Linked DNA regions of Homo sapiens: regions 1 and 3 are each linked to region 2. The links are contacts of gene promoters, found by promoter capture Hi-C in blood cells and fetal thymus (Javierre and others, 2016). All regions are on one chromosome and are shown on one strand. Each heading gives the region's core, a stretch centred on a gene start or on the middle of the fragment in contact. The rest is flanking DNA. Distances are from core to core; before and after follow the strand shown. Region 1 overlaps PXK (PX domain containing serine/threonine kinase like). Region 2 holds the start of ACOX2 (acyl-CoA oxidase 2). Region 3 overlaps PDHB (pyruvate dehydrogenase E1 subunit beta).

Region 1 (2,700 bases), core at 103-2,602, 120 kb after region 2:
TATTAATAATGAATATGGGATCAACTCATATACCAACTCCCTGCCAATGATTCTCCCTTCACACAGCTTGTAGGAACCCTTCCAGGCACAGCCAGCAAGCTCTGAGTGGCAGAAGCAGCTCCTCGCACATCTGGAACAACTGGTTCATTTAAGAAGCAAAAGGAGATACTGGTGTCCCAATTGTTTTTATTGGGCTTGCAAAAGACTTTAGGAGAGACATCTTGGTTCAAAAATAAAAGATAGTATTATGGGGCTACTCAACAAAATTGGGGATTATTTTTATAAGCAGTCTCCAAGATAAATTCTTTTTACATTTTTCAATCAAAACTAGTATCTAATTTACAAAAGTGAAGCAAAGGCTAATAACAGAAAAATATTCAGATAATTAAATACATTACAGAGCAAAACAGAGTCAAATCGTTGCCAGAAAATCAGAAACGCAGTGACTCTTTCACTCCTCCACCTAGGCATCTTACCAGTTGTGCTCTGTGACAAAACTGACCCTATGGACGGGCTCCCTGAGGAGAGAGGCCTGGCAGGACGGGACCCCTGGGCCACGGCGCATTTGTGTTGTTCAGCTAAGCATGTACCAAGACAGGCTCCAATCTGAGAAGCTCTGCATGAAGCTTTTCAGCAAAGACAGCAAGCTGGAGCCCGGGGGTGGCTAGTGGCCCTGAAACCGGTCCATTCCCTGTGAAAGCCGAGCTTGGAAATCTAGCCCCTCAGCTCTCCCAAATGACACTGCTAATTTGCACTCCCACTGATTTCTCTTGAGAAAGCTGCTGCTATCTAACCCCTGAAATTGTTGGGCCAAGGCAGGAAGAGGCACAGCCCGCTCCTCCTGTTGGCGGACAGGAAGGTGGCATGTCACTTTACTCCATCACTAACCTGATGTAGAGGGTGGAGTTGGCGATGACGGGGACGTGAGAGGTGAGCTGGCCCCAGATCCTGCTAAGATAAAACACAGAGAAACCCTCATGGGGACCAACGAAAGACATTTGGAATTTGGCCCAGGCTGGGACCCACTGCTGTCTGAGAATCTACATTTGGCTTAGTGTGTGAGCCTTGTGAAACAAGATGATGAGGGACAAAAAACTCAGAGACCGGACCCAGTGACAGGCTTTTACTCTGGTGCAGGGTCCACCTCCTTCCCCAAGCCACTAAAAGCTCCTTGCCTCCCACTGCTCCCCATGGCCTGCCTGGTTTGAAACTTTGCACCATCAACAGCTTAGGCAATTGGCTGCAGTATCTCTTCCTGACGCAACCTCCACTCCTGGGTAATGACAAATGACAGAAGCCACAAGTGGTACAGCAGACAGAGAGGTGCAGAGCAGCCTGCTGGGGGCTTCCAAAGGAAGGGAGTGCCCCGTACAGCATCCACCCAGTAACGCATTCTGCCGAAGTTCCATTTTATCAGCAGGTAGAATCAACTAGATAGGGTCAGTCTATTCAGTTTATGGATTTCACAGCCCTTTTCTTATCTAGAATAAGTAAATGTCCTTATTCACATTAAAACAATGTGAATCCCACCTGTTGCATGCTTTTTCTGGATCTAGTAACCTTATTATATTTCAAATATTCCCAAGTTCTCAGCATCTCCCCATTACTTGGCGATCCCTAGAAAATATCTTCCTGAGCTGACATGAAGTAGCCCAATGAGCAGAGGTTCCTACGTAAGCCTTTCTGTGGACACAGAAACCCCCCTCCCACACATAGAGATCCTATGGAGAGGTTAACCAAATCTCCCTAGTCAGGTGCTTTCTGGGCTGATGGGCACACACACCCAGAGGGCTGCCATCACACGCCTGAGAAGCCACCAGAGCTGGTGTGGTTAAGGCCCCAGCCATCACTTCCCTCACTACCCACAGGACATGTTGGTGTCTCATGGACACTGGCCATGATGAGAAATGTCCTGATTAAACCACACCTCCCTCCAGTTTAATGCTTTTCTACTTGCAATATTCCCTCAGTTCCCTATAAAATATGAGGGTGTTTTACTGAAAAAGGAGGTAAAACTCAATGCATGCTGTCTTTATACTGTTCGTAGTGCTAATGAACTTTAATGGGGAGAAGCTTCACTGCTTGACTCCAGTAAAGTTTGGGAATTATCTGTATATATCCATCAACTGCTACTTCATTTTCCTAAACTCCTGAGGGCACTGGGGTATCCTGAAGTCCTTGAGTCCTACCTGGCTTCATGTGACACAGCTTTGCAGGCAGGCAGGGTCTTAGAAGGTAGAGAGCACACTGTCAGGCTTTCTCTGCTCTATAAAAAATTAGCTACTGGACAGAATGACTGCTGGTTGGAATCATGAGTCTCAGTATAATAATGACCATGACCGGTCCATGTCCCTCCCATCAACCATGGCGAAGATAGGCTTCCAACTGAAACTACCCACCAGCCACAACAGCATTCACCCCCAAGGAGCCTGCGCTGGTCCTCATTGGGACCACCCCTCCTTCCTCTCCTTTGCAGCTCTTCCTGAGCCCTTCTCCAGTCTGGACTCTGCAGTGGTGTCAATGTGACTCTCACTCTCCTTCTGGAGTTTATGGGCTTTCTCTATTCAGGGCTGCCAATCTCCAGCTCTGGTCATGCCACTTGCATTCTCCAGCTGTGGCTCATGCAGCCCTCTGGGCTGCAGCCTAATCATCTTGTACACTTTTCTCCTCCCGCCCCAGGCAGACATTCTCCTCCCTGAC
Region 2 (2,700 bases), core at 145-2,644:
ATATTTTGTAATTTAAAAAGCCTTTTTAAGCTAGAGAATTCAAGATTTCAGTGCAACAAATCAAAATGATCACATCCAAAACATACAGAACAGGGTCAGCTTCAAAGCGGATGAGAAAACAATTTAAACATGGAGAGTTTATTAAAAAGCCTTGCTCCAAGGGCCCCTGAGCAAGGCTTTCTTCACTGGGCACTTCCTGCAATCCAAGCCTTTCTCTATGGCAGAGAGGAACTAAGTCATTGCCCATGGTCAGTGATAGCATAAATCCTTGGCGGAGATGAGTCCAGGTGTAAGTAAGAACTTTCACCTCCAAACAGTGGGGCCAAGACCACCTTCCCTGAAACCACTGCCCACAGCAATGAGGACTGCCAGGAGTCTGAGCCCCACAGCTCCAGAAGGACCTACTAGGTGATAAGTTGCAAAGCTTGGGCCACAGGTCCTGCCTCTTCCTACAGACACAAGCTAGACACTACCTTGGGGATATGATGGGGTGCTGTGAGGCTCCTTACTGAGCAAATACCTTGCATTACAGGGGAGGCCAAGGCCCAGAAAGGAGTACACCTGCTCAGAGTCAACATAGCTCAGAAGTCCTGCCAGAACAGGAGCCTTGATCTCCTACTGGCCCCTTGATTTCTTTCCCAGTCTTACACAAATGTGTTACGTAATCTACTTATTGTGCAAACCCAAACAAAGTGACATCCCTCCCTGAGCCTGTTTCCTTACCTGCAAAATGGGGAGCCGCATCTGACTTTCCAAGGTGGTTATGCAGGGAGGGAACCTCTAAGCCTCTCATTCCTCTCACTAAGACCCAGCTCTCATCTGGATCCCACACACTACAGATGGATGCTTCACAAATATTTTTCCAGGGAATGTCAGGGGATGCTAAGCATAAGACAAGCCATATTTTAGAGCAGAAACATGGGGAGAGAGGAAAAACGTACACCTTACAGAGCAATCCTTTCACATGAGGACCATCTCAGGGGAGCCTATTAAGCTCGTGTGATATTAACAGCTTGAGTGCCTGAAGGGCACACAGTGAAAGATCAGGGAAGACCAGGATATCACTTTGGAAACACTGCTGGGGTACACAGCTTTTTGGTACAAGTAGTGTCAAAGGAATCCCTGGCTTTGAGATGTAAGGGCTCCAACCTCCCAGAAGTCCTCCCAGGGCAGCCCCAGCGACAGGCACAAAGGTCACACCCATGCAGGAAGAGAGGGAGGAAGGAGAGGAGCTCCATAAGCCCAGACAAGGGCTTGAGAGCAGACAAGGGCTTGAGAGCAGACAAGGGCTTGAGAGCAGACAAGGGCTTGAGAGCTGGCCAAGCAGTTTCTCTCAGCTTCTGTGTTCCAGCCCCTATGTGGGAGGAGAGAAGGGCAGGACCACAAGCCTGCCAGAGGCTGCGGCCTACAGCCGGGGAGAGGCCAGCCCGGCCTACAGTGCGGACACAGGACAGAGGGGAGCCAGGTGAGCCAGGTTTTTGGGCAGGGAGGGACTGGGAGACCCCAGAGGAGAGGGCTGCCCCCATGATGACCCTGTCCGCAGCTCCGAGAGACCCTGAGCAAGGCTTTCTTCACTGGGCACCTCCTGCAAATCAGGCCCTGCACTAAGTGTTAGGGTCACGGCATGACAGTGACAAAGATCCCGGCCCTCTTGCAGTTTCTGTGTTAGTAGCAGGGAGATGGAAGTAAACAAAAACATATGAAATGAGTAAATGATCTCAAATGTCAGAAGGGGATAAGTGAAAAGAGAAAAAGGAGAGCAGAGTGAGGAGGACAGGGAATGCCGGGGGAGGGGGCTTGGGGTTTTAAAGAGGGTGGCCTCTTTAAGGTTAAATGAGGTTCAATGCAAAAAGCCCTAGTGACATTTGAAGAAAGGGTGTTCTGGGCAGATGGAGATGCCCTAGCAAATGCTGGCAGTGGCAGGGAGGCCTGGAGCATTCAGAACAGCAAGGAGGCAGTGGCAGCAGAGCAAGGAAAAGAGGTAAGGCAGGACGAGAGGAGCCGCACTAGGGGCACTTGCAGGACTCCGGGGGGCAGAGGATGGGGCCCCTTGCCAGCACCCCCACAGCCCTGCTGGGGGTATTGGTTTGAAAGCCTCATATGAATCATTTGCTACATGTGGTTGCATGACCCTTATAAAGTCTCCTCCCTTTCCAAGGCCCACATCCTCTCCATAAAATGGTAATAACAGCAGTGCATCTGTCAGGTTGAGGTCAGGAAGGAAGGGGATCAAAAGCATGGCAGCCTGCCGGAGAGATTTACAACATACCTGCTGCAAGCTAGGAAATGCAGAGCTGGCCTCCCAGGCCTTGTGGGAGGAACATGTAAGCAAATAAGAACTTGTCCCTAACCCTAGAGCACCCAGGGAACGAGGGAGCTGAACTTTGTTCAGAGAGAACAGCAGGGGCAAAGGGTAGGAAGAGAATGAGTGGAGGCCAGGGATGAGGGCAGTAAGTTGACATAGGAGAGAGGTGAGTGGAGTAGGGTTGGGTAGACACAGCAAGGACTCCATTCCACAAACAGTGGGCCCCAAGGAGCAGATTCCAAGCAGGAGAGGAAAACAATGTGATTTGCAGTTCAAGAGTTCACCTGGCAGCTGGGAGAACAAATAAGAGGAACACTGAGGCCAAGTAAGAGATAACAGTGGCCTGGATGCTAGCCAAAGAGATAGCAAGGAGCAGATGGACTCAAGAGACTTGT
Region 3 (2,700 bases), core at 84-2,583, 110 kb after region 2:
GCACAGTGGTGTAGCATCTTCAGTTTCAACCTGATCTCTGATCTGTGACCACTCTGTTTTCAGGAACACATATAACTGTGGTTTCCCATTCAAGACCTGTGGGCCACTGCTTAGAAGCTGCAGCAGTGCTATCTAAAGAAGGAGTTGAATGTGAGGTGAGTGGACATTTACTTGTTCTTAAAGAATTAGAAGGGCTCCTTTTAGATTTAAGACCCAGAAGAGTTCTGTAACAGGTTAATTAGATGTAAAACCTTGCTTTGTCACTCATTTCTGTCTCTGCTTAAAGCTGGGAACCTGCCTGCAGTTCACATACTTAGCTTTTTACCACTCAGGTCACTTAGGTTCTGGATCTTTTTTTTTGAGAGACAGTGGGAGCTCTCTGAACCTCTTCTGGTTCTCAGTGATACCCCCCGAGAGAGAAAAAAACAGGCTTTTGTTCTGTTGCCCAGGCTGAAGTGCAGTGGCTGGATCATGGCTCACTGTAACCGTGAACTCCTGGGCCCAAGTGATGCTCCCACCTCACCCTTCTGAGGTTCTGGATCTTTTAGAAACTCACCATGTGCTAGTTATACTTGGGCAAGTTATATACTCTAAATCTGTTTCATCAGCTATAAAACAGGGATAATATAAATACTGTCCCGTCATAGGGCTGTTGTGAGAATTACACTTAGTGTAGTGCTTGGTACATGATGGGCACTCAGCTGTTAACTGTTAACTCATTTTGATGAGGGAATTTAAAGTGAAGGAGGATTGGCTGGGCGTGGTGGATCACCTGAGGTCAGGAGTTCAAGACCAGTCTGGCCAACATGTTGAAACCCCATCTCTACTAAAAATACAAAAATTAGCTAGGCGTGGTGGTCTATGCCTGTAATCCCAGCTACTCCAGAGGCTGAGGCAGGAAAATGGCTTGAACTGGGAAGGCGGGGGTGGCAGTGAGCCGAGATCACGCCACTGCACTCCAGCCTGGACAACAAGAGCAAAACTCCATCCCAAAAGAAATAAAAAAGTGAAGGAAGATAAATGAATCCTATAACTGCACAGAGCTGCTTGTGGTAGACATACAGATCTTTGTTTTAATTAAAATTTTTCCTTTTACAGTTTGTACATTCATGAATAGGTATTCATAGGCAGATTAGATTTTCCTAGATACAAAGATTAACAGGAAACAAAAAAGGAAATGGTATTATGGGGATAAGGCTCTATTTGTGCTGCAATAGCTCTGTAAACTTGATTATATTACCTGTTTAGGTGATAAATATGCGTACCATTAGACCAATGGACATGGAAACCATAGAAGCCAGTGTCATGAAGACAAATCATCTTGTAACTGTGGAAGGAGGCTGGCCACAGTTTGGAGTAGGAGCTGAAATCTGTGCCAGGATCATGGAAGGTATTTCAAAGAAACTGGTTCTAGAATACAGTCAAGCTATAGTAAACATCATGTACCTGAATACGTACAGGATAAAGAGATTGAAAGCTAGGAGTGGCCAAACGACTTCAACTTTAAACTTGTAAGTTTGGCATTTCTCTTCAGGCAGATATTTTTAAAAGCAAATCCAGAAAGCGGTTCCCCATAATTAGCATTCCTTACATTTTCTCTTCCTGGTCAGCCACACCTCTGTGCCAAGGTGGTAGTGCCCAGCTGGCATTTGCACTCTCTCAGTTGAGCCTTCCTTCTCCTAGGTCCTGCGTTCAATTTCCTGGATGCTCCTGCTGTTCGTGTCACTGGTGCTGATGTCCCTATGCCTTATGCAAAGATTCTAGAGGACAACTCTATACCTCAGGTCAAAGACATCATATTTGCAATAAAGAAAACATTAAATATTTAGTTTGGACTTGAATATCAAGTCGTTGAAATTTATTTGAAATACTTGCTGGCACTGCACCTGGATTTGTACTGCAAGACCTGACTATTCATAACGGAAAACGATTTCTAAAGCAACAGCAGGTATTTTTGTACAGGGAAGTTTAAATGTGTTTGTGTATGGAAAACTCTCCACTCTCCTCCCCTAGATGCCATGCTTCCTTTTGTCTGTTACGGTTGCCATGTTCTTTGAATAACAAATTATATAACATTTTATCCTCTCTCACCACAAGGACAAAGTATGGATGTGGCAGAGTCCTCATGAAAGATGTATCCAAACAAGATAACTTATATGTATAAAATTAAAGCATATAATATACATTTACTGTTAGTTTGTTTTGATAAGGAATAAAGGAATTTCTAACATGACTAATTTTTTTTTTTTTGAGACAATGTTTGGCTCTGTTCCCCAAGCTGGAGTGTGATGGCACAATCTTGGCTCACTGCAGCCTCCACCTCCCAGGTTCAAGTGATTCTCCTGCCTCAGCCTCAGTAGGAAATTAGCCACCACATCCGGCTAATTTTGGTGTTTTTAGTAGAGGTGGGGTTTCACCATGTTGGCCAGGCTGGTCTTGAACACCTGACCTCAGGTGATCCACCTGCCTTGGCCCTCCCAAACTGCTGGGATTACAGGCATGAGCCACCACACCTGGCCATGACTATTGTATTTTTATATTGAAAGAATTGGCTGGGCTGGGCGTGGTGGCTCATGCCTGTAATCCCAGTACTTTGGGAGGCCAAGGCGGGCAGAACATGATGTCAGGAGATCAAGACCATCCTGGCTAACATGGTGAAACCCTGTCTACTAAAGCCGGGCATGGTGGCATGCGCCTGTA

What was found. Contacts are between HindIII fragments. The CHiCAGO score rates a contact against its expected background, and 5 or more counts as called.
Region 1: a fragment that was not itself captured here is called in contact with the fragment with the promoter of ACOX2 in region 2 in 3 of 17 cell types (M0 macrophages, M2 macrophages and monocytes); the score reaches 7.0 in M0 macrophages.
Region 3: a fragment that was not itself captured here is called in contact with the fragment with the promoter of ACOX2 in region 2 in 6 of 17 cell types (M2 macrophages, M0 macrophages, monocytes and 3 more); the score reaches 9.8 in M2 macrophages.

Annotation. Positions count from the first base shown.
Region 1 is chr3:58,411,152-58,413,851 of GRCh38, reverse strand. PXK (PX domain containing serine/threonine kinase like) reads right to left here. Exons shown (of 18, transcript NM_017771.5): 17 at 889-951. Among named protein-coding and RNA genes, the nearest start is that of PDHB, 21 kb to the left of the region's middle. The HindIII fragment of the contact is 1,447 bases long and covers 629-2,075 here.
Region 2 is chr3:58,535,884-58,538,583 of GRCh38, reverse strand. ACOX2 (acyl-CoA oxidase 2) reads left to right here and starts at 1,394. Exons shown (of 15, transcript NM_003500.4): 1 at 1,394-1,465. LOC107984079 (a long non-coding RNA gene) reads right to left here. Exons shown (of 3, transcript XR_001740724.2): 1 at 2,270-2,700. The HindIII fragment of the contact is 2,666 bases long and covers 427-2,700 here.
Region 3 is chr3:58,427,163-58,429,862 of GRCh38, reverse strand. It overlaps PDHB (pyruvate dehydrogenase E1 subunit beta), which reads left to right. Exons shown (of 10, transcript NM_000925.4): 8 at 64-155; 9 at 1,249-1,390; 10 at 1,684-2,233. The coding sequence ends at 1,829. Among named protein-coding and RNA genes, the nearest start is that of PDHB, 5.3 kb to the left of the region's middle. RefSeq lists an enhancer at 258-337. The HindIII fragment of the contact is 7,139 bases long and covers 1-2,700 here.